Linked DNA regions of Homo sapiens: region 2 is linked to region 1. Evidence: promoter capture Hi-C in 16 types of primary human blood cells and fetal thymus (Javierre and others, 2016). All regions are on one chromosome and are shown on one strand. The core of a region is centred on a gene start or on the middle of the fragment in contact, and the rest is flanking DNA. Distances in the headings are between cores, read along the strand shown. Region 1 holds the start of IL18BP (interleukin 18 binding protein). Region 2 has its middle 20 kb from the start of FOLR3.

Region 1 (2,835 bases), core at 98-2,597:
TGAATAAAGCTCCATGAGCTGGGTTGGAAAGCTGAACATTTATCTTGCTTTCTTCTTCCCACCTCTTTCCCTGGGGTCCCCAGGGGTGTCTTGCCTTTGTTAACCCCCATCGGAGACCTGAGGGTCTGGGGGTGGTTGGGCCTGCCTTTCTGCTGTTCCCAGCTGTTCCCCTGCTGACATCCCTAGGAGTGGTGGAATGCCAGGCTCCTGTCCTGTGGCCTGGGGGCCTGGGGCATCATTGGGCCTGCCTTCAGACTGAGGTTGCTCTATGTTCTCACTGCCTGAGGACAGTGTCCCGCCACCACCTGCCTTCCTGAGGACCACACTCAGGCTCGGCTTCTCTTCCCCAGCTGTGGCTTCCCATGGTACCCTGCTGCTTATGCCACCTGTGGGGCTGTTCCCCTCCTCAGAGAGGGGAATGGGGCTGGTCAGAGGACCTAGGGATCACCCTTCCTTTTACTTTTTCCCCCCACCCCCCTGTCAGGCTCAGGTGAGAAGCCGAGGCCAGGCTGTCCAAAGCTCTTTTCATGTGTAACAGTTCTGAGTCCCTTGACCTCCCCCCTTGGCCTGACTCTGGTCTCGGTTCCACTAAGACAGAGTCCTGTCATCTTTCCCTACCATCCCCCACTGGACTGTCTCTCTCAGAAACCCCAGGCAGCCTTGCCTCCTGACCTAACTCCTGGAGATGCTGGTGTTCTTGGGAGGAATTTCTCCTGCATCTTACATGCTAGAAGCCCCTGGGGCAGGAGGTAGGGGGAGGAATTGAGAGGAGGAAAAACATGAACTAGACACCTAGAGAAGAAGGATGTGACTTGTAGTATCCTATGTCTAAATTAGGAATATGAATCTGGTTTTTCTACAAGAAGTTTGAGATCACAGCTGACTGTGTTCCTGATGCATCCACCAAACCCAGTTCCATCTGTGGGCCTCCCTGGCTCTGTCACCAGCCGTTGCACCCTCCCAATCACAGGAGTCACAAACCTCAGACATGCAGCTCCTGTCCACACTTAATATATGCATGCATTGGATCACCCAGCCCTGGTCTTTCTGCCTCCATGGATAACTGCATGACCCTGAGAGAAAACCTCCTTAGATTTAGCATCCTAGGTTCCTCACACGCCTCACCCTGAATCCTGGCCCTCCCGCAGCCCCAGCGCCATTTGTCCCATCAGTGACAAGATTCATATTCTGATGTAGACTCTGTTGCCAGAGCCAGTGTTGAGCCAGTCCGCCTCTTCCCCGGGAAGTGCCTGCCCTTCCCTCCTGTTAGGGTTGGCTCTCGAGCTTGTGTGCCAGTTCCTGGGTTGGCCGTGAGAGTTCTACAGACAAGGAGGAAGTGCTCTCGGTGTATTTCCTGTGGTGGGTTCACACGCAGCTAGACACAGCTAACTTGAGTCTTGGAGCTCCTAGAGGGAAGCTTCTGGAAAGGAAGGCTCTTCAGGACCTCTTAGGAGCCAGGTAGGAGTCTGGGACTACTAGTGAACCTAGACCTGTGGCTCTGGCCAGAGGGGCTAGGATGAGAGACAGAGGGTGTGATGGTGGGTGCTGGGAGATGTAGCCGACCTTGGGGCTGGTGGCTGGGGGAGTGGGTAGCCTGGGAAAGGCCAGGATGTGGACGGACTGGTATGGCATTGAGCCTGAAGTGGTCCAACTTGGGGTTCCCCAGTGCCTAGGAAAGTTGTCCCCTTGAATGTCAGTGTGAAGGTGAAGGAGGAAGCAGATGCCTGTTCATATGGAAACAAAGACCTGGCTGTGAAGAGGGGAGGCGGACACCAAAGTCCTGACACTTGGGCGGGACAGAATTGATCTGTGAGAGACTCATCTAGTTCATACCCTAGGTGACCCTGGGGGTGGCATGGGGGTAGATTAGAGATCCCAGTCTGGTATCCTCTGGAGAGTAGGAGTCCCAGGAGCTGAAGGTTTCTGGCCACTGAACTTTGGCTAAAGCAGAGGTGTCACAGCTGCTCAAGATTCCCTGGTTAAAAAGTGAAAGTGAAATAGAGGGTCGGGGCAGTGCTTTCCCAGAAGGATTGCTCGGCATCCTGCCCTTCCCAGAAGCAGCTCTGGTGCTGAAGAGAGCACTGCCTCCCTGTGTGACTGGGTGAGTCCATATTCTCTCTTTGGGTCTCAATTTTGCCTTCCCTAATGAAGGGGTAAGATTGGACTAGGTAAGCATCTTACAACCATTTGTGGTCATGAGAGCTGGGGTGGGGAAGGATTGTCACTTGACCCCCCCAGCTCTGTTTCTAAGTGCTGAAAGAGCTCCAGGCTATGCTACGGGAGGAGAAGCCAGCTACTGAGGAAAAGCCAGCTACTGAGAAAAAGCGGGAGTGGTTTACCATTCTCCTCCCCCACCTTTCACCAGAGAAGAGGACGTTGTCACAGATAAAGAGCCAGGCTCACCAGCTCCTGACGCATGCATCATGACCATGAGACACAACTGGACACCAGGTAGGCCTTGGGGCTACGCATGGGCAGGCGGGGTAGGGTGAGGTCTATGAACAGAATGGAGCAATGGGCTAACCCGGAGCCTTCACTCCAAGGCAAACCACCCAGCGCACCTGGTGCTGTTGCTTTAAGAACCTGGGCAGATATTGTAGCTCTGGCTCCAGTCTAAAGCTTCTCTGTACTCTGTTCAATAAAGGGCTAAGGGGTGGGTGCTGAGGGGTCCCTCTTCCCGCTCTGATTCCCTGGCTAGAACCCAGACATCTCTGGGCTGGAGTTACATCCTTACCCGGGCAGCCCACTCTGTCTCCAGAGCCGCTGACCTGTAACTGTCCTTTCCTCAGACCTCAGCCCTTTGTGGGTCCTGCTCCTGTGTGCCCACGTCGTCAC
Region 2 (2,835 bases), core at 239-2,738, 160 kb after region 1:
TTTTCTCATTAACCAAAACTTGCCTGTGGTAAGGTGGGGAAAGTGAAGAGCTCAGGAAGACCAGAGAAAGACTCACCTATCCCAGTGACACTGAATCAAAAGTTCAGGCAGCCGCTCATTGGTTAAGAAGGGATCTTTTCCAGGAGTTGCATCAGCTCTTAAGTGTCCCCGTTTGGGGAGCAAAAAGCTCTCATGTCCCAGGATCCTGTACATACACAATTCTGTCACCCACAGCCATCAGCAAAGATTTCAAGGTAGATTAATCCAAAGAGAATAGCAATTAATATCCCATGGTGCTAAATCCGTTCTTAGCCAAGAGGAACTTTACTCTGAGAGGGGCTTCTAACTCCCTAAATCTTAGAAGGGACTCTAACACTCCTGAGTTGGGCCTCAAACCAAAGTTCAGTCAAGTGTCCTTGCCTTTTATTAAGAGGGGCCTTTAACCCACTCTGTCTTAGGAGAGACTTTAACTCCCCTAAGTTGAGCCTCTAACCCAATTCCATCCTTTACCTGGGTACCCCGCCACTTACCCTAGATAGCCAATTGGTGCTGCAGTCTATTTCCTTTGGGTAGGGTGTCTCCTCAGGGTTCGACAGGAAGATGTTACCAGAAAGGGATCCAGATCCAGACCCCAAGAGAAGGTTCTTGGATCTTGTATAAGAAAGAATTTGGGGTGAGTCCATAGAGTAAAGTGAAAGCAAGCTTATTAAGGAGGTAAAGGAATACAGAATGGCTACTCCATAGGCAGGGCAGTGGCTTGAGCTGCTCCACTAAGGATACTTATTGTTACTTCTTGATTATATGCTAAAGAAGGGGTGGATTATTAATGAGTTTTCCAAGGAAGGGGTGGCCAATTCCCGTAACTGAGGGTTCCTCTCCTTTTTAGACCATTTAGGGTAACTTCCTGATGTTGCCATGGCATCTGTAATCACGGCACTGGTGGGAGTGTCTTTTAGCATGCTAATACATTATAATTAGCATATAATGAGTGATGAGGATGACCAGAGGTCACTTTGGTCGCCATCTTGGTTTTGGTGGGTTTGGGCTGGCTTCTTTACCACAGGCTGTTTTATCAGCAAGGTCTTTGTGACCTGTTATCTTGTGCTCACCTCCTAGCTCATCCTGTCACTTGGAATGCCACACCTCCTGGGAATGCAGCCCAGTAGGCTTCAGCTTCATTTTACCCAGCCCCTATTCAAGATGGGGTTGCTTTGGTTGAAACGCCTCTGACAGACCCACCAGAGGAGCCCTTCAGTTTGTATTAATATGATATGTGACTACTTATTTCACAGACACTGTGTGTCAAATGTCGGTACAATGCCAACAACTCACTTTCTTGGTTGTTGAGTTTCCGCATTACACAAATAAGGAAGCAGGCCCAGAGGAGAGCCTGGGAAATGAAGTTGGAGAGACCCATCCTGGGGTTGCTTGATTTAGGGATTTAGACTGGGAATGACTCCTCCATAGATCTGAAAGAAGAAACTGCACACTGTTCATAGTGGCTTCTTTTCTGCCAGCCCTAAACAGCTCAAGAAAGGAGAGTCTCTCAGTTATGAGGCTGGGTGTGAAGCATTTTTTTTTTCTTTGAGAGAGGTCTTGTTATGTTGCCCAGGCTGGTCTCCAAATCCTGGGCTCAAGCGATCCTTCCACCTTGGCCTCCCAAAGTGCTGGGATTACAAATGTGAGCCACCACATCCGGCCTGAAGCATCTTGGTTCATGCATCTAGCAAACCTTCAGTCTGTGTCTCTCAATCCCACTGGACATGAGGTCTGCCTATAACAATTATTTGGCTACAACCCCTTTAATATCCTGAACTTAGCTAAACAGTTATTTTAAAAATCCATATTCAAATATAACTAAAGAAGAAACAGAGGAAAAGTAATTTGTAATATGGATTTCTATTTATATTCGTTTTGACTCCATTAGCAGATAGCAGTCACTGCCCTGTTTGCACTTGTTTTGAATCAGTGAGCCTGTAGCTGCCAAGTGCAGACTAACAAGAGGTAAATAACCTGTATACCTTGAGCAGCTCTGACTTTAACTTATTCTTTTATTTTTTATATTTTTATTTTTTTTTATTTTTATCTCTTTTTAGACATGAGGTCTCACTATGTTGTCCCAGTTGACCTCAAACTCCTGCACTCAAGTGATCCTCCCACCTTGGCCTCCAAAGTACTGGGATTATAGGTGTAAACCACTGTGCCTGGGCTTTTATATATTTTTTAAGTGCACATTTTAATGTTTAGCTTGTCAGCCTTAAGTAACGAGATCCAGAAAGCTTGAGGATAGCTACACAGAAGCATAGATTCAAGTTGTCCTGAATATACACTTCGATTCACAGCAGTTACAAGTGAGTTTTTAAGGAAACAGAATAGTTCCTAAGTTGTTTATCAAGAATTTAAAATAAAATAACATAAGCAATTCATTGGCTATACATTGTTTTTTGTATCACAAATTCCAGGAACAGATAACGGGTGAGGCAGCTAGTCAGGGACAAAACGCCTTGGAACAATTGTCTCTGGGCATGGGTGGGGAGGGTGTGACTGAAGTTCCATACTCATGCCTTTCTGGGCCTGATAAATTGGGCATGTCTCACATCATGAGACTGCTCTGAGCTATTTTTCTTTTCTCAAGCTTTATACCAAATTCTAGGCCGTGGGCTTTCATTCATTCAATAAGTATGTATTGAGTGTTTATGTAATCGGAACTCTTCTGGGGTTACAATTTAACTTACTTTCTCACCTCCGAATGGTTATCACCTCAACGAGGACTAAATCCAATGATTTTTTTTTATCTTGCCAAAATTCCTATCTAAGGGGTCTGGGGAGTCATGC

The links. The method cuts DNA at HindIII sites, captures the fragments that hold promoters and counts their contacts. A CHiCAGO score of 5 or more calls a contact.
Region 2: a fragment that was not itself captured here is called in contact with the fragment with the promoter of IL18BP in region 1 in 2 of 17 cell types (endothelial precursors and megakaryocytes); the score reaches 5.4 in endothelial precursors.

Annotation. Positions count from the first base shown.
Region 1 is chr11:71,997,562-72,000,396 of GRCh38, forward strand. IL18BP (interleukin 18 binding protein) reads left to right here and starts at 1,348. Exons shown (of 6, transcript NM_001039660.2): 1 at 1,348-1,458; 2 at 2,366-2,451; 3 at 2,790-2,835. The coding sequence starts at 2,424. It overlaps RNF121 (ring finger protein 121), which reads left to right. Exons shown (of 9, transcript NM_018320.5): 9 at 1-36. The HindIII fragment of the contact is 5,155 bases long and covers 1-1,415 here.
Region 2 is chr11:72,154,791-72,157,625 of GRCh38, forward strand. No RefSeq gene overlaps it. Among named protein-coding and RNA genes, the nearest start is that of FOLR3, 20 kb to the left of the region's middle. The HindIII fragment of the contact is 1,577 bases long and covers 701-2,277 here.